6 separate regions of the Homo sapiens genome follow, and regions 1, 2, 3, 4 and 5 are each linked to region 6. The links are contacts of gene promoters, found by promoter capture Hi-C in blood cells and fetal thymus (Javierre and others, 2016). All regions are on one chromosome and are shown on one strand. Each heading gives the region's core, a stretch centred on a gene start or on the middle of the fragment in contact. The rest is flanking DNA. Distances are from core to core; before and after follow the strand shown.

Evidence for each region. Contacts are between HindIII fragments. The CHiCAGO score rates a contact against its expected background, and 5 or more counts as called.
Region 1: a contact is called between a fragment that was not itself captured here and the fragment with the promoter of FSIP1 in region 6, in 1 of 17 cell types (total CD4 T cells). The highest score is 5.0, in total CD4 T cells.
Region 2: a contact is called between a fragment that was not itself captured here and the fragment with the promoter of FSIP1 in region 6, in 2 of 17 cell types (naive CD4 T cells and naive CD8 T cells). The highest score is 7.7, in naive CD4 T cells.
Region 3: a fragment that was not itself captured here is called in contact with the fragment with the promoter of FSIP1 in region 6 in 5 of 17 cell types (naive CD8 T cells, naive CD4 T cells, total CD4 T cells and 2 more); the score reaches 7.9 in naive CD8 T cells.
Region 4: a fragment that was not itself captured here is called in contact with the fragment with the promoter of FSIP1 in region 6 in 1 of 17 cell types (total CD4 T cells); the score reaches 5.6 in total CD4 T cells.
Region 5: a contact is called between the fragment with the promoter of RASGRP1 here and the fragment with the promoter of FSIP1 in region 6, in 6 of 17 cell types (total CD4 T cells, naive CD8 T cells, non-activated CD4 T cells and 3 more). The highest score is 10.3, in total CD4 T cells.

What each region holds. Positions count from the first base shown.
Region 1 is chr15:38,666,842-38,669,740 of GRCh38, reverse strand. No RefSeq gene overlaps it. Among named protein-coding and RNA genes, the nearest start is that of LINC02694, 28 kb to the left of the region's middle. The HindIII fragment of the contact is 3,643 bases long and covers 1-2,899 here.
Region 2 is chr15:38,498,260-38,501,047 of GRCh38, reverse strand. RASGRP1 (RAS guanyl releasing protein 1) reads left to right here. Exons shown (of 17, transcript NM_005739.4): 14 at 909-945; 15 at 2,102-2,254. Among named protein-coding and RNA genes, the nearest start is that of FAM98B, 46 kb to the right of the region's middle. The HindIII fragment of the contact is 5,932 bases long and covers 1-2,788 here.
Region 3 is chr15:38,478,370-38,481,514 of GRCh38, reverse strand. It overlaps FAM98B (family with sequence similarity 98 member B), which reads right to left. Exons shown (of 8, transcript NM_173611.4): 7 at 56-223. Among named protein-coding and RNA genes, the nearest start is that of FAM98B, 26 kb to the right of the region's middle. The HindIII fragment of the contact is 602 bases long and covers 952-1,553 here.
Region 4 is chr15:38,521,504-38,524,325 of GRCh38, reverse strand. The region is part of intron 3 of RASGRP1 (RAS guanyl releasing protein 1); the gene reads left to right. Among named protein-coding and RNA genes, the nearest start is that of RASGRP1, 42 kb to the left of the region's middle. The HindIII fragment of the contact is 778 bases long and covers 919-1,696 here.
Region 5 is chr15:38,563,389-38,566,295 of GRCh38, reverse strand. RASGRP1 (RAS guanyl releasing protein 1) reads left to right here and starts at 1,482. Exons shown (of 17, transcript NM_005739.4): 1 at 1,482-1,702. The coding sequence starts at 1,668. RefSeq lists enhancers at 876-1,065, 907-1,418 and silencers at 1,276-1,325, 1,486-1,725, 1,756-1,975, 1,986-2,185. The HindIII fragment of the contact is 3,108 bases long and covers 1-2,502 here.
Region 6 is chr15:39,781,539-39,784,355 of GRCh38, reverse strand. It overlaps FSIP1 (fibrous sheath interacting protein 1), which reads left to right and starts at 1,515. Exons shown (of 12, transcript NM_152597.5): 1 at 1,515-1,728. LOC105370941 (a long non-coding RNA gene) reads right to left here and starts at 1,450. Exons shown (of 1, transcript NR_135665.1): 1 at 1-1,450. RefSeq lists an enhancer at 1,276-1,405 and a silencer at 1,706-1,885. The HindIII fragment of the contact is 7,042 bases long and covers 1-2,817 here.

The DNA of each region.
Region 1 (2,899 bases), core at 224-2,723, 1.1 Mb after region 6:
GACAGTGTGGTGCACACCTGTAGTCCCAGCTACTTAGGAGGCTGAGGTGGGAGGATGGCTTGAGCCCAGGAGGTAGAGGTTGCAGTGAGCCAAGATCACACCACTGCACTCCAATCTAGACAGCAGAATGAGACTCTGTCTCAAAAAAAAAAAAAAAAAAAAGGAAAAGAAAAGAAAAAAATGTATGTGAGAGGGTGATTGATGATCAAAGGGAGCCCACTTTCTTGGTCTCATGAACATTCTCCGTCAAAACACACACATATACAACCCCTAAGTGCCAGTTCTGATTAGACTTGGGTCTTACTATGCTTGGCTTGGCAGGATTGCACTATTGTTCAAACATTTGTCCCATAAAAAATCAGCAGAATTTGAATTAACCACTAGTTTCTTTTAAGCTGAGCTGACATTTTGAGCTACATTTATTTTAACTAGGGATTTATGACAGGAAAGGAATAGTTCTAATTAAATAAGTATTAGCCTCACTGTGAATAATGACCCCTTGGAAGTTTCCCAGTCCCCTAATAGCTAATTAACAGCTCATAACTGGGCTCTCTTTGTATCCCAAGGCAAGTGTGAAAAGGAAGACTTGACTGATTAATGAGATGGGCTCAAACCGGATTAAAAATGAAAATTGGCTTTACGGACTCCAGACCTGCAAATCTACTCTGCGTGAAAAGGAGAGATTATTTTTAAGGCATCCTGGGCGATCGCTGTGGGAAAAGGGAGCACACAGCCAAAGGCATTGATCTGTTAACGCTTTCCCTGTGACCCCTTTCACAGTGGCTGACAGAGGACCAGACAGCCAGCGGTGAGAGAGCTGGCCTCTCCATTGTCATGACGCCTATAGGCTTGGGGTGGAAAGCCAAATAGCCTTCATAAAGACTTGCTCTTCCTTTGTCATGTTTGTATTTCAGACAAATATTAAGGCAGACAGATGGCAAATTAGAAGTCAATAAATACCACTTTCCATCTCTGCCATTCCATTTTAGAATGTGTTAGAAGCCCTCCTCTTCTCCCTCAGTCAGAGGCTGGAGACTAGTTCTTCAATATTAAAGGAGATTGTGCTCAGCTTGCCTGAGGCAATCGCAAGCTGGTACCATGCCACCTCCCACATAACACTTTCTCTGGCACTTACCAGAAAGTGTTTTTGAATGGGCAGTTGTGGACTCTGGAAAAATGCTGCATGTATTTTCAGAGGCCCCTGTCTGCTGCAGATAGCTCCATCCCTTTCATGTAGCTTTTAGTTGCAGCCTCACTTGCTAAGCGCTCGGCAGGCCCCTACTTTTTTTCTCTGCTCGCGTACCCTGCCCCAAGAAACTTTAAAATACTACATAGAGCCAATATTTATTTGGCCAATAGAATTCCATTCAGTGCAAGGGAACTGCTTTCAGTCATCATGGGGAAGAGACAGGGGAGTACCCCAGATTACCATGAAATTTAAGTTCCTTCTCAGAGTAGCCAGCCCACTCCTACCCCTTTGGAACTGAGACTAGGTTCTAAGGTTGAGCCAGAGCAGGGCCACATTATAGGGGTGCTGATTTGGGGTCACCACAGAGCAGTTGTGGGTCTTTATCAAATAACTGGCCCCAAAACAGCAGATTAAATGGTGAGGGTGGAGGAAGAACAACTTCCTTTCTGAGCTTATAAGTAAGATTTATGATCTGCCATTGCCAGGAAATGGAATGTTACAACTAGATTGCCACTGAAGTTCAAAAACTTAAACCTATGTTGAATTTAACCTAATCTTTATTTGATGATTTTAAAAAGACATTTGAGACTCTAGGTGTTCTCAATTCTTCATAACAAATCTTTTGACAAAAGTGAGTAAGATCTAATTAACAGCTCAAAAGATCAGGAAGTCAAAAGATCAGAAACTTTACCAGCCTGTGTGCGCTATGCCTACCCTGCACCCTGGAAGGTTCCTAACCTTCCAATGGCTTTAGTTGCCTCTTTACCATCTGACTGAGCAAGGACAGGACCACAGCAAGGTAAAAGCATTTTCCCTCTCTCCCAAGAATATACCCTCCAATCTGTGCCCCTTGCTTTCTTCTACTGGTACCCCAAAATGGATCAGATATCAAGAACCATCAAACATTATACTACATAGCACAAAAACAAAATTAATACACTGCCCCCCACACAAATAAAAAAGTGTATAAAAAACACCTGGCCCTTATCTAATCTTTGCAAGGCTTAATGCCAAGAAAGGTGTTAACTCTCCAGGGAGGATGGAGACACACTAGATATCAGTTAATTAACACTCCCAGTAGGTGAACAGAAGTGCTCTCCTAGGCTGGAAAGAATCTCATTTTCTTCTAAAACTGTGACTTCGGACTGACACTTCAAAATTGTCAACAGTAACTTAAGGGATGAGAATGTCTCTTTAGTTATTTTAATCAGCAGCATGTACGGAGTGCACTTTGGTGCACATCTGTTTGTGGGAAGATAAAGAAATAACTACCATGTCTGTCCTGAAGAAGTTGATCAGGTTAAGTAGGACGTTAAGACTAACACAGATTACTCTGTAAAAGATACTGATAAACATGTAAAAATTAACATTACACTGTACACTGGTGTTGTGTGCATCTGGTATAAGAATGATCAAAAGTATGGACGTCTTTTAAATGTCAGCTGACATCTTCAAGGATGAGGACATTTTGAAACAGTGTATTGGAGGAAGTGGTAGAGTCAGACTAACAGCAGAGGGTGTGGAGCAAGGAAATCCTGTGCAGGGATGGCCAGAAAATCTGATGGAATCAGACAGTTAAGAGGTCTAAGGCTTCACAGAAGAAGAGATGGAGATAAAATTATAGCATTTGCAGTTACTAAAGTAATGAAGAGGAAAACAAAAATCAATAGCATTACTATCAAAAATTGGAAAGGGCATGGAGTAAAAGAA
Region 2 (2,788 bases), core at 4-2,503, 1.3 Mb after region 6:
CCAGCTTGGAGCCCAGACAGACACCTAGAATAACCTAGAGCTCAAGCGTGTGGTTTTTACCTGCACTCATCATCTCTCGCTTCTTCCTGTTTTTTCTTTTCTATTGCAATGAGGCCTTAGATAAATGGTACCAGAAATGCTGAATTAGGATATACTTTTAAAGTATAATATTCATGTGCTGTTTCAAGTGTTATAACAAAGACATATGAGATACCTTCTGTCTTTAGGAGATAACCTTGGCTATGCCCCTCTTCCGTTCCACTCCTGACCAATCGTTTCCCCCTAAACTCGGGTCCTGATGCAAGGCTCTATATCCTTCTCAGTTTGGAGTCCTGAGGAACCTGTTTGCCCGATGATTCATCCATTTCTCGAGAATGTCTGGGTCATAAGGCTGCTAGTGAGAGCCAGGTGTGGTGGCTCATGCCTGTAATCCCAGCACTTTGGGAGGCCAAGGCAGGCAGATCACTTGAGGCCCCGAGTTCGAGACCAGCCCACCTAACATGGTGAAAACCCGTCTCTACTAAAAATACAAAAAAATTTAGCCAGGTGTGGTGGAACATGCCTGGTAGTCCCAGCTACTTGGGAAACTGAGACAGGAGAATTGCTTGAACCCAGGAGGTGGAGGTTGCAGTGAGCCGAGATCGCACCACTGCACTCCAGCCTGGGCAACTGGGCAAGACTGTCTCAAAAAAAACAAAACAAAAAAAACCTGCTTCTTGAGAAACTTTGATCAGCATAAACTCTTCTCATGGATTTAAGGTCAGAAGGGACAAGACATGAGAGATAAATGAGGTTTCCTTCCCACTTGAGCTAGAGAGTAAAATGAAGGAAAATAAAGGAATGTCACCTTGTAGCCTCACACCAGATGGATGAATGACATGTGGTGCATTCTGTCTCTTGTTTCATAGCTCTGGGGAGTGATCAAACAAGGATATCGATGTAAAGGTAAGACTCAATATTGTTGACATATTCCTGGTGTATCAGTCCATTCTCACGCTGCTATAGAGAACTGCCTGAGACTGGGTAATTTATAAAGGCAAGAGGTTTAATTGACTCACAGTTCCACAGGGCTGGTGAGGCCTAAGGAAACTCACAATCATGGCAGAAGGGGAAGCAAACACATCCTTCTTCACATGCTGGCAGGAAGGAGAAGTGCTGAGCAAAAGGGGGAAAAGCCCTTATGAAGCCAACAGATCTCATGAGCAGTCACTCACTATCATGAGAACAACATGAGGGTAACCGCCCCCAGGATTCATTTACCTCCCATTGGGTCCCTCCCATGACACATGGGGATTATGGGCACTACAAGGTGAGGTTTGGATGGGGACACAGAGCTAAACCATATCAGCTGGTCTTAGAGTCCCACCTCTAAAACATTTTTTACCCATAGTAGTTGTCCATTTAGTCCACAACTTCTCAGCATAGTTCAGAGTCTCATCCCCAAAGTGGTTTCCCTCGGACACCCCCGGTGAATGACCGCCACACCGAAGAGAGAAATGCCTGGTTGCACAGATAGGCATTTTCTCTGTATAAAATCCTCTTTCTGTCGTGGCTGGCCTAGAACAGGGATAGCAGGTAGGAGATGGTGCTCTCATATAGTCATGGAAGGGTGGGTCCCCAGTGAAAAAGATAGAATCTCTTCTGCAACAGAAGATAAATGATTACTAAAGGCCCTTGTCAGCTTTCCTTTATCACTCAGGACATAACTGTCCTTCCTTGTGACTAGGAGAATTCAGGAGTGAAAGAGAGGAAACCTTTTACTGCAAGAAAGAAAATAAGACCTAACAGCTGAGTGTTTCCGGAGGGTCTCCCTAGAGTAGGCAGAATGTATGGGATACCAGGACACCATCTCTTCCCTCCAAGATATCAGGATACTGCTTCTGATGCTGAGATTCACTGATAAGGGCTACATCAAGAGTGTGAGCTCTGGGCTTCACCAAGTGAGAAGAATGCTAGCTTCATTAGGAATGTTAAGTGTCTTAGCTCCAGAAGATAGAACAGACATGTGTGACAAGAAAGCACTGCATGAATTTGGTTGTGAGACACACTGGGGAAGAGAGAAAAGTGAAAGACTTCTTGACCCAGGATGTCTTGTCCACAGACTGCGGGATGAACTGTCACAAACAATGCAAAGATCTGGTTGTGTTTGAGTGTAAGAAGCGAGCCAAGAACCCAGTAGCTCCCACAGAGAACAACACTTCTGTGGGGCCAGTGTCCAACCTTTGCTCATTGGGAGCCAAAGATCTGCTCCATGGTAAGTAGGCACTGGGAACATTCATCTTGGAAAGTGAAGTAGGAAGGGAAAAGTTTTAGAGACGGAAAGATTACCTCATGACTCTGTGTTTGAGTTTAAATGTAACCTCAACAGCTAGGCCAGGGCTGACCCCTCCCACAGTTTTGGATTTTAGCTCCATGCCTATGTCTTAGACTTAAGGTGTGAGAATAGCAGAGTCCTAGTTAGGCATAAAAATCAGCAGGTACTTATTGAGCACCTACACCAAGCACAGATACTGACTTCTGGCCAAGATAGTGCCTCAAGTTAACAGTTAACTATCCCACCCTATCCCCAGCTCCAAACCCAAAACAGTGACTAGGGAAAATATGTATGTACATGCATATGTATATGTGTGTGTATATATAATGTAAATTAACATATATAATATATAAATCACATTAAAAGGCATAGTGCATTCAAAAACAGATATCTCAAGGTTACACATGTACTAGAAACATACTGCAAGGAGTAGATGCTAAAGCTACTGGTCTGCTTGGCTGCATGTCTAGAAGC
Region 3 (3,145 bases), core at 3-2,502, 1.3 Mb after region 6:
ACATTAAGTAAGATATCATCAATTCATTTTCCACTGTACTGAAAGAAACACCAACCTTATTAATGGCACATGCGGTCTTCTCCCGGCTGGTGCCACTACTTGTCCTAATGATCTTGGATAGATCTTCACGAGCAGCAAGTAGATGTGCCATTGTAATCGTTGTCTTGGGTGACAAAGCATAACGCTTAGGCTGATAAATTCTTGCTATATCATCTGTTTTTACCTAAATGACAAGAGTTAAGGAAAAAAGGAACAAAAGTACATTTTAATGAAAGAGCAAAAACAATCATAATCTTTAGAAATAAAGAAAAGGAGATAATGCATAAGCAAGGAGTTAGAAAAGAGCAAAAACACCCAAATATCTGAGAATTTATGAATAATTTAGAACAAATAAAATAGACCAACAGGTGTTAAAAATATGTAACTACCAGCAACAACTCGCTAAAAAATAATAACAAAAAAATTTCTATACATATTAACAAAAAATACCTAAAAAATAGTTTTACCAAAACCACATACAGGACATTTAAAAGGGAAACATCAGTAAATCTTGCAAAAACAAAAGGAAAACTTGTATAAATGGTAAGAAATACCAAGTTTCTGTATGGGAACATTAAGTATTATTGTCAGTTTTCCCCCAAATTAACTTATAATCCTATATAAATAGTTTTTGAGAGAATGAAAAAAAAATCTAAAGTTAAATCCAGAAACTCAATATGTAAGAATAACTAAAAGCATTTTGAAATATAATCCTACCAAATACTAATATGCTATAATACAAAATTATCATCATCTTATCAGTTAACATTTAATGAGAACTTATTAAATGTGCCAGGATGCTGTTCACTTAGTAAGGCATTATTTCTTTAATCCTCAAAATATCCTTTTAGAGTGGTTGGTTTTTATTATCCCCTTTTGCAGATGGAAAAAAAAAATGAGGCATAGAAAGCTTAAGTTAGTTTCCCCAAAATATAGAGAGAATCCTAGCTCTGCCCACTTAGCAACAAAGGTCTACCTGACCCCCAAGCACAGGTCTAGTATAGATAACAGTTTGCTATCCTACCTCCATCTAATTAACTAGAACTTGGGAGAAAAAAACATAGATTGATGAAATAGTATATTGAGACTCAGAGCCTCATAAATCTATGAATGCAATAAATGATAAAGGAGACATCACAGATCAACGAGAAAAGGAAAGGATTATCTTTTAAATGGTGCTGGAATGACCTGGTGGCTATCTGTAATAATAACAATAATACAGCACACCATATAACAAAGGGAATTCCAAAGAGAACAAAAAGTTAACTGTTTGAGGTTTAATTTTCAATTTAAAAACAACTACATTATAAAAATTAAAATTTCTGTACTTTAAAAGATATAAAACAACATCTAATGACAACTGGGGAAAATATTTTCAACAAATAATTCAACCAGCAAACTTCCTTTCTATATAAAAACCTCAAACACAAAAAGAAAACAGAATTTTACAGGAAAAAAAAATGACAAGACATAAATAGAAGTTAAAAAGAGGAAATTCAAATGACTAATAAGCTTATGAAAACAGTTCAACTTTGTCAATAATAAGAACAGACAAAACAAGTTAGTCTTTTTAACATCAAGTTAGCAATAAAGAGGCTAAAGTGACACAACATTTCATTTACCTTACTGGAAGGAGTTTAAATTCATATAAACTTAAGTGGAAAACAATTTGGCCATGGGAAGCGAGAGCATTAAGAGACAAAACCTTTGACACAGTAAATTTCCTTTAAGGAATCCACCATAAAATTTTACTCTGAAATTTATATATAAAAATTAAACACAGAAACATGCCTGGTATTGTTAATATAGAAAAAAATGTATAAAATAAGAGAAGTAAACTATTGAATCACTAAATGATAAAATATAATGCAGCCATAAGAAGGATACTGAAAGAAATTTAGTACTGTTACATGCTATGACATGAATAAACCTTGGAAACATTATGCTAAATCAAAGCCAGATGCAGAAGCCACATATTGTATGATTCCATTTATATGAAATGTCCAGATAGGCAAATCCATGGAAATGTAAAGTATATTATAGTAATGGTTGCCAGGGCATGGAGGTAGGGAATATTGGGAATGACTGCTGAGAGGTAGCTATGTCATTTTGGGATGATGGAAGTGTTATGGAATTACATATAGGGTTACACAACACAGTGAACAGACTAAAAACCACTGAATTGTACACTTTAAAATGGTATATTTTGGCCAGGCACAGTGGCTCATTCCTGTAATCTCAGCACTTTGGGAGGCTGAAGTGGGAGCATTACTTGAGGCCAGGAGTTTGAGACCAGCCTGGGCAACATGGCAAAACCCTGTCTCTATAAAAAATAAAACAAAATTTTTAATTAGCCAGGTGTGGTGGCACACGTCTGTAGTCCCAGCTGCCTGAGCGAAGGCCACAGTGGGAGGATCACTTGACCCTCCAGTGAGTTGCAGTGAGCTATGATGATGGCACTGCACTCCAGCCTGGGCAACAACAAGACTACAACTCAAAAATAAAAATAAAATGGTAAATTTTATGTTAATTATATCTCAAAAAAATTAAGAGTTAATTTTAAAAAGGGTACTAAAATAGAGTTTTTAGAGATATTGGAAAATGGTTACAATATATTTAGTGAAAAAGCAAGCTATAAAATTACATTCACAATATTATCTCAATACTAGTAAAACAGTGAAGAAAAGAAACTACATAACCTTTCTAATAAATGACTATAATCTGTTTGAAGGGCAACTCTGGAGTATGCATCAACAGCCTTAAAATCATTTCCCTTAATCAAATAGTTCACTTTTAGGAATACATCATGGACATGAACAAAAATTTAGCTGTCAAGGATTTTATTACAGGGTCAAAGAGGCAAAATTAGAGAAAACCTCAGTGTCTATGAATACAGTATATATATGCATATAATAAAATACTGTGCAAAGATTTAAACTGCTGTAGAACAAAGTTGATGACAGTCACTCAACAATATCAGACGTATTTTTCTATCACGAAAATAGGGAGAAAATGATAAAGATATAATAAATTCAACAAGAAAACTTAGTATACAAATGCATATAATCATATAATCAATTGAAAAAGACCAAATGAAAGGCCAAAA
Region 4 (2,822 bases), core at 58-2,557, 1.3 Mb after region 6:
CAGAATTCCTACCACTGTTTCCACCATTCTTCTGTGCTGATGGTGACTTTCAAGTCTGGATTTCTCTAACTTAAACCTTTCCTTTTTTTTTTGGAAATTGGTGCGGGGAGAGGGGTCTCACTATATTGCCTAGTCTGGTCTCAAACTCCTGGCATCAAGTCATCCTCCCACCTCAGCCTCCCAAAGTACTGGGATTCCAGGCATGAGCCACGGCACCCAGCCATCTAACCTAAACCATTTTTCTTAGGTTTATACCAGTTTGTCCTGCTAACACTTAAGACTTTAATATATGCATTAGCCCACTGTCCCCACCCACAGCCACTACCTCATTAATTCTGCTTCGACACCAGTACAGCCTTGTTTTGCCTAAGACACATTCTGAGAAATACATCATTGGGCGACTCTGTCATTGTGTGAACACCATAGAGTGTACTTACACAAACCTAGATGGCATAGCCTGCTACACTTCTAGGCTAGACGGTACAGCCTGTTGCTCCTAGGCTACAAACCTGTACAGCAGGTTACTGTACTGAATACTGTAGGTGGTTGTAGCACATGGTAAGTATTTATATATCTAAACATAGAAAAAGTACAGTAAAAATATGGTATAAAAGATTAAAAAATGATATGTATAGGGGGGCACTTACCATGAATGGAGCTTGCAGGACTGGAAGTTGCTCTGGGTAGTCAGGGGTGAGTGGTGAGTGAATGTGAAGGCCTAGGACATTACTGTACATAACTGTAGGTTTTATAAACACTATATACTTAGGCTATACTAAATTGATAAAAAATATTTTTCTTTCTTCAATAATAATTTAGCTTACTGTGACTTTATGTTATAAACTTAATTTTTAAAACTTTGACTCTACACAGTGTACAGCTGTGTAAAAATATTTTCTTTATATTCTTCTGTAAGCTTCTTTCTGTTTTAAAAATGTTTAATGTTTATTAACTTTTTAAACTTTGTTGTCAAAATCTAAGACACAAGTATACACAGTAGCCTAGGCCTATATTGGGTCAGGATTATGAAGACAGGATGAGGCAATAGGAATTTTTCAACTTCATTGTAATCTCATGGGACCACTGTCATATATGTGGTCCGTCATGGACCAAAATGTTATGCAGCACATGACTGTATTTTCATGGTCAATTTCAGTTAATAGTGTTAGTATCTATTCTTGCCTAAACCAGTAACATCAGAAGCACTCTTGACTTCTCCCCTGCTTTCACCTCCTACAGTCTGTCACCTGATCCTAGGGTTTCTACTTCAGAAATGACTCTTATCTGGTCTCTGCTCTCCATTCCCATACCATGCCTTAGTTCATGTCTCCGTGGTCTCTCTCCTGAACCACTGTCCCACTCCAGTCTTTGTATCTACATGGTCCGCCTACCCCGTCTCATGGTAGCTACCCTTGAAATTCTTTCCTACAAAGCAAATTGGGCAGGCCATTGTTTCTGAGCCTCTGCAGACTACGGAGTTAATGTCAACTCCTTAGCTTGCCAGCAAAAGGGCCTCCTCAGTCTGTTCCCAGCGAGTTTTTCCTGCTTCATTCCGTAGCTCTCTGAGAAACCCTTTCCCTTCCTCACTGAACTTCTCAATATACTGGATGTAATGGGGCCTTTTATCATTCCTGTGCCTTGAAAGCCTTTCTACCCTCTTTGTTTAGAAGCTCTTTCAAGACCCTTCTGGGAAGCTTTTCTAGACTTTTCCAGCCCTTCTCCCCTTTTAAAAATACTTCTAATGTTTTAAAATAGTATTATTGATTGACAATCTATTTAATTCCTTTGATTTTAGTTTTGTACTGCTTAAGTCAAAGTGCGTTTCTCATATCTCTGGCCTGGATGTAATCTGCATTGAAAAACTCACAGAAAGTGTGAAGTGTTTTTATTCTGTTAGCTAAATAAATGTATCTACCTAAACTTCAGTCCGTTTTGCAATGTAGTGCCTATGTACTCTGGTCTTTATAGATGACCGTTTCAAGTAAAGTACAGAACGTTTGTGTCTAGCTGCTGTGATTTCAATTTGGTTAATAATATAAAAGATTGCAAGGGTACTGAAAAATTGATTGAATTACAAATTAAGAAAGATATATTTTTGTATTTTAAAAGTATGTACACTGTAACTTACCTATTTGTGTGTCGTCTCCCCCGCTAGACTCTGTCTTTCAAGGGCAGGGAGCAAGGCTTATTTATCTTTGTATCTAGAACTTAGTTTAGTGGCTGTTTCATGGTAGGACACAATAAATGTTGCATTACTATGGGTGCAAACATTGGGATACTTTTTATATTTACAAGAACTTTTACCTGTGATATCTGGGCTTTGCTCAGGTGAAGATGTAACCTGGGGTAGGGAAAGGGATTCTGAGAGTATGAAATAATACTCCTGTAATGAAAGCCAGGTTAAACATTGAAGGCAAAATTATTTTCTTTCTTTACGCTTAGTTTCCCTGTTCTCTGACCTGGAAGTAATAGAATTTTTAGTTAAATAAGCTCAGATGGTCTCCTGATTACCATTGTGAAAAGAAGAGAGGGATAAATTTGAAAATGTGCTTTGAATAGTTTAGGTGCCTGAAAAGTACAGTCAGAACTGTACTGGTACTTTATAGCCACAGTACTAGCTATGAAGAAAAGAAAAAGGTATGGGGTCTGAGGGTTCCAGCAAACACTGAAGTTTACCAAGATCAGCAGATGCCTGAGCCTCTTACTATTTAGCCTGCATGTGCTGGTGTTTGCTTCAGCTCCTGAATGAAGTGAGAAAGAGGGTGCCCTGCTCCCTGTGGGGGGCAGCCTTTGCCATGGCATAGGGGCTCTAAGGACCTCTG
Region 5 (2,907 bases), core at 233-2,732, 1.2 Mb after region 6:
TTCTGCATCTGTGGCTGTGACTGAGGACTTGGTTCTTTATATCACCCAGTGTTCATGAGGATTCTCTGGAGAAATTTCTTGCTGGTCTCAGTATCAAGAAAGGGGGATCTTCTCTTGAGCAATTTTGTTTTTGGTCTTGCATGTGATAGGAATTGAACTTTAGACAAGGCCTCTCTTTAAACTTGACTGCTAGAAATGCAGGAGACAAATTTTGGTCCCACCTGTAGCAAGGGTATTTGACTCTATGAGATGCATTTATTTCAAATGATGTTCATTTTTGGCTCCATCTTGTGTGCCTCATTTTTCATTTCACACACTTCTTTTTGTAGGTTATGTGCTCTTGTAAGCTATCTCGAATTCTGTTTTAAGGACAAGGTAGCATATAAATATAAGGAAATATATAAATGAAACAGAGGAAGGCTTTAAAGTCCAGAACACTATGGCCAGGAAGACAACTATGACTGTGGCTAGAGTTATGGTCTGTGGCCGTGATAATGAGTGTGTTATTAGGGCAGTCCAGCAGTGATTACAGGGAGTCAGACAGACCTCAGTCCAAGTCAGAGGTCTCTCTGCTGTTTATTAGTTGTATGATCTAAGGCATAGCATTCTCTAAACCTTCATTTTCTCATCTTTACAACAGTGATCTCTTTGTATCAGGGAGAGTGGATTAAATGAGGTAATGTATAGAAAGCACTTAGCACAACCGCACTCAATCATTAGCTATTGAGATTATCAGCACTATCACCTGGACAAGCAGCGGATGGGCCGCCCCTCTTGGCCAGGTCTTCTGTGCGCACTGACGTTGTATGAAAGTTGTCCCCACATCTCCTACACCCACCGACGCCAGGCGGCCGCGTCTGGGCCAGATATGGATCACGCCTGTGGAGCGCACCTCCACACAGGCAGCCCTCGTCCAAGGTGCAGGGCGCAGGGCACAGGGCACATGTCTACGGCCCAGTCCTGCAGACGGCTACCTAGAGACCCCAGGGCACAGGTTAAGGCAACTTCACAACTGTCTTTCCGTTCCTTTCCCCTGCCGGACTCCGCGCTCTGATATATACAGGAGAGGCCCTGGAGGGGAGAAGGCGTCCTCACTGCAGTGCTCCGAGCAGCGGCCGCAGGAAGAGGCGTGGAAGCTGCGGGTCGGCTGCGGGAAAGGGGGTCCCATGGGAGCCGCTAGGCGCAGCCCGTTTCCCGAGCTGAGGTGGAGGTCGACGGGCACAGGTGCCCTGCAAGGCGCGGGCGTGGTAGCCGGGAGCCCGCTCCTCTCCAACTCCCCTGAGACTTAACCCTTTGGCCAAGAGAGGTCGAAGGCGGGCAGGGGTGAGAGAACCGCGCGAGGCGCAGGCCGGGGCACCCGCGGAAAGGGGGCAGGTTTCGGGGAAGAGCGGCGGGGCGCCGCACGTTTCCTGCAGCCGCCAGCATCAGCGTGTCAGGTGGTTGCCAGGCGGGTGTGAGCGCGCGCGCGAGGCAGAGGGGGCGCGCTCGCACAAAGTTTGTGCCTGCGGTGCACCTCGGTCGGGCTCGCCGGGCTCGAGGGCTGGCGGGCGCCGGGGCTACGAGGCCCGGGGGGGAGAGAGCCGGCAGGCGGCGGCGGTGGTGGCGGGGGCGATGCGCCGCGCCCGGCCGCGCTAGGTGAGCCGGCACCGGGAGCGCGGGCCGCGGCCATGGGCACCCTGGGCAAGGCGAGAGAGGCTCCGCGGTGAGTAGAGGCGGCCGTGGCCCTCGGGAGCGCCTGTGTCCTTTCTTGGGAAAGAGGCCCCTGCCCGTCGCCCCAACACCCCGAGGGAAGTTGAGGGCGGAGGGGGGCCGGGGTCGGCCGGAGTCCCGGGACACCAGCGCGACGGGCGGACGTGTCCAGAACGCCCGGCGCGCTGCGCCCGGGGTTTCGGGGAGGGAGCTGGGGCTGAGGGGTGGTAGAGGGGCGGCCGCGAGGCCAGAGCTCGTCCGGTGAGATCTGCTAGGGCCGAAGCTCTTCGCGGAGCCGGCGCCCGCCCGCCGACTTCCTCCCCCACATCTCCACGCCCGGCATCGGGACTCCCACTCGCGGACTTTCCGCGCTGCCCGCACCTGCTGGGGCGCTGGGCTCCGGCTGCGCCACCTGGTGGCCCCTCCCGGCCCTGCCCAGAACGGCCGAGGAGCTTGCAGGGAGCCCGCAGAGGTGGCACCCCTCGGTTGCCCCTGCCCCACGGAAGTTTCCAGATCCGTGGGTCAGGGAAACATATCGCCTTCCGTATGGGAAGCTGCACTCCTCTCCCCCTCACTATGATTCTATAGAGGGTCTTGGATAACAGAAGTTGAAGAAAGAGGGACAGTGAGTGAAAGGGCTCTTGGCCAGGCAGCTTTGAGTTTGTAGCCAAAGGACCAGAACTAGGCAACTGCATGAACAAAGGCCTGGCCTCGGCGTAGGGGCTGGACAAGTTGTGCACTTCACAACTCCATTCACATCGACACTGATGGGACTGTGCCTTGCACCACCATACCCAGTAGCGGCAGGAAGCTTGCGATGCTGGACTTCCCGTGCTTATAATCCCAGGAACGAAGGATTCTTGGCCCTGTATGCACGCCCTGCCTCTCCCCATCCAGGTATCCCCTGAGGGTCCACCACTGTACTTTGCACTAGATTCAGAAGGAGGAGTTCAGTACATTAAATTGAGTATTGTAAGGGGAAGAGGACGGGACTGGAAGGAATCCATACTAGAAGTCAAGAGAGTCACCTTCCACTGCAAAGAAAGTTGTGGAAGTTCCAGTTCCCTTGCTCCATTTCATCTCTTACTTTTCTAGGCGGATTTCATAAAAAGCTCAGCCTGAAACTGACCTCCACTGAGATACCTATGCCTGGAGAGGATTTCACCTAAACCAGTTTAGAGTTTTGACGGTCTCCTTCAGCAAACCTATGGGGCTTTG
Region 6 (2,817 bases), core at 266-2,765:
CTCACTGCCAGCGGCACACAGGGCCAGGAACATAGGCTTTCATGGCACCAACTACAAACAAGACTGACTGATGAGATTGTGGCCATGTCTCTCCCAAGTGCTCCTGACCTGGTTCCTGAAAATGTTCACCTCAACCTCGAACTCAGCATTTCCTGTGCTGGTTTTCAACTTGACATTGGTGAATTTCTTCAGTAACATCTCTAGGTCGGCTGCTAAGTTTTAATTCTCATAGGAGGATTAGGATACTTTCTCCCATTTTCTTCAGTTTGCAACTTTTTTTCTTTTGAGATTTGGAAAGCCACATAAATTCCCTGAGAAATGCTGGGAAGAAATCCCTGCACAGAAACACTAACAATGAGGACAGTGAGGCTGGAACCAGGTTTACCAGGGGAAAGCAGTAGGTAGGAGTGGAGGTCAGAGAGCCAACAGAAAGCCTTATCATTTAGAGATGATGTCAGTATGAACCTGAATGGAAGCACTGAAGTTGTGACGAATGTTTGGATTCTGAATATATTTTGAATGTTGAGCTGATAGGACAAATAGATTGTAGAGTGAGAGAGGAAGAAGAATTGAGGATGACTCCAAGGTTTTTGGTCTAGGCATGGCAGGCTGAAATTACCATTTGCTGAGATGGATAGAAAGTGGGTGGGGGACTCTGGAGAAGTTGTTTTTTCCCGTGTTAAGTTTGAGATGCTTACACATCTAAGTGGATATGCCAAATAGGCAGTTAGGTAAAGGAGTCTGGAGTTCAGGGAAGTCTGGGCTGGTGATAAGATGCAGGATTCAGGAGCATAGGGATGGCATTTATAGCCAGGTTTTTATACCCAGCACTCGCCTAGACTGCAGCTGTGTTCTTTCGGCAACTCAGCCTACGACTATTTGCTTCGCTGAAAAAAAACCACATCGTACCTAGTTAAAACAATGAGGACAAAGGGGCCATGAATGTGAAAATGCCCTGTAAACGGTAATGTGCTGTTCAGACTGGAAAGCAGGAGAAATGATGGCAATGGAGGTGAGGAAAATCAGTTTGTGGACGTAGGGAAATAATTTTCGTGCACTGAGAATTAGAGAAACTACGAAATGAAAGAAGGTGCAAAAAGCAATTATAACTCTTTTTGGACTGTAGCCGAATCTGTGCAAAACTCATATTTTTAAAATTTCCATAGCACCCCAAATTTACTAGAGCTTCACATACATGGTCTTTTTGAGCTGCACAAGTCTTGTAAGAAGGGAATTATTATTGTTCCCATTTTACGGAGGAGGAAACTGTGCTCGGAGAGGATAACTGACCTGTAAGGCATCACAGCAATATGAGGGACAGAGATACACAAGCATCCAGACGTCCGCGTTCCGAATCCAACCTAAAGACGAAAAATCGCTCCCAACCCCCACCGTCGGCAGCGAAGACGGAAGGACACACGCCGGCCGTCCCAGCTCGCAGGGCTCCAACAGCCGCCGGCCCCGGTCCCATTTCCGGATGGTACAGCCCTTTCCGCTATCGCGAGACCGGAAGCATCGCGCATCTGGTTGCCAGGGAAACAGCGGTCCCACAGGCAGGAGGGATCTGGACCGGCGGCTTCTTCCACTACCAGAGAGGCTGAGGTGGCGGGAGAGACCCCTCTCCTCTGGGGGTAAGTGGCTGGCGCGGCGAGTGTCTGCGGCGCGCTTCTGCGGCCATCTGCGCCCTGACTGACGGCGGCCAGTTCCTCGAGGAGGCCCGGCGGGAAGGTGAGGGGCCGCGCAGATGAGGGCGGAGCTCGGTCGCGGGGCGGTGCGCCGAGGAGTGGGCGGGGCGGAGCTGCGTCGGGCCGCTTGGCATGTAGATGGACTGTCAGGGAGAGCGGACAGGGCCAATGAGAGGGCGGGGGCGGGCTCATTGGGGGCGGGGCCCCAGCGGCTTCTGCCTCCGCGGAGGCTATTTCTCCAGGAATCACCTAACATTAGGACCTGTAACCAAGGCTTCTACTTTCCCGAGATTTGGATCTTCCCACCAAGATCTAGAACTGATCACCAGCCATTTAAACTAGACCGTAAACGGCAAAGGATGCAAATAGGCATTTCACAGGAAAAATAAAAAGATGCAAACAGCAAACAATTGATTAGAGACTCAACTTTTCTCGTGAAGAAATGTAAACCAAATTCACAGATACCTTTTACACCTATGAGACTGGAGAAGATGAAACAGCTTTGACATAACCAGATGGGCCCCAGCCCAGTGTAGGGGAAGTAGTGTAATTTGGTGCAGCCTTTTTGGAGTACAATTTGGCGAACTACCAAAATTTGAAACATAAGTGTTCTTTGACTCAGCAATTCTAATATATTTTATGGATGTATGAGCATAACTAAAGAAAGATTGGCACAAATATATTAACTTAAAATTGAGGTATAACTTACTTATGGTAAGCCTCACCCATTTAATCTACAGTTCTGTGAGTTTTGACAAATGTATACAGTTATGTAATTACCAACCACCACAATCAGCATACGGAAGTTTCATCATGAACCCCAAATTCCCTAGTGCTCTTTGTATTTAATCCCTCCCCTAACGCCATCCCTGGCAACAACTTCCTAGTTTTTTGTTCCTGTAATTTTGCCTATTCCAGAATGTCATATTGATGGAAGCAAACACCCTGTGGCCTTTTGAATCAGGCTTCTTTCAGCTTAGCATCATGCAGTTGCTATTCATTCATGTTCTGTGTATCAGTTGTTCCTTTATGTTGCTGAGTAATAGTCCATTGTATGGATCTACGGTAGTATATTTATCCATTTCCTACTTGAGGCATATTTGGATGAGTTCTTTCCAGTTGTTGGCTATTA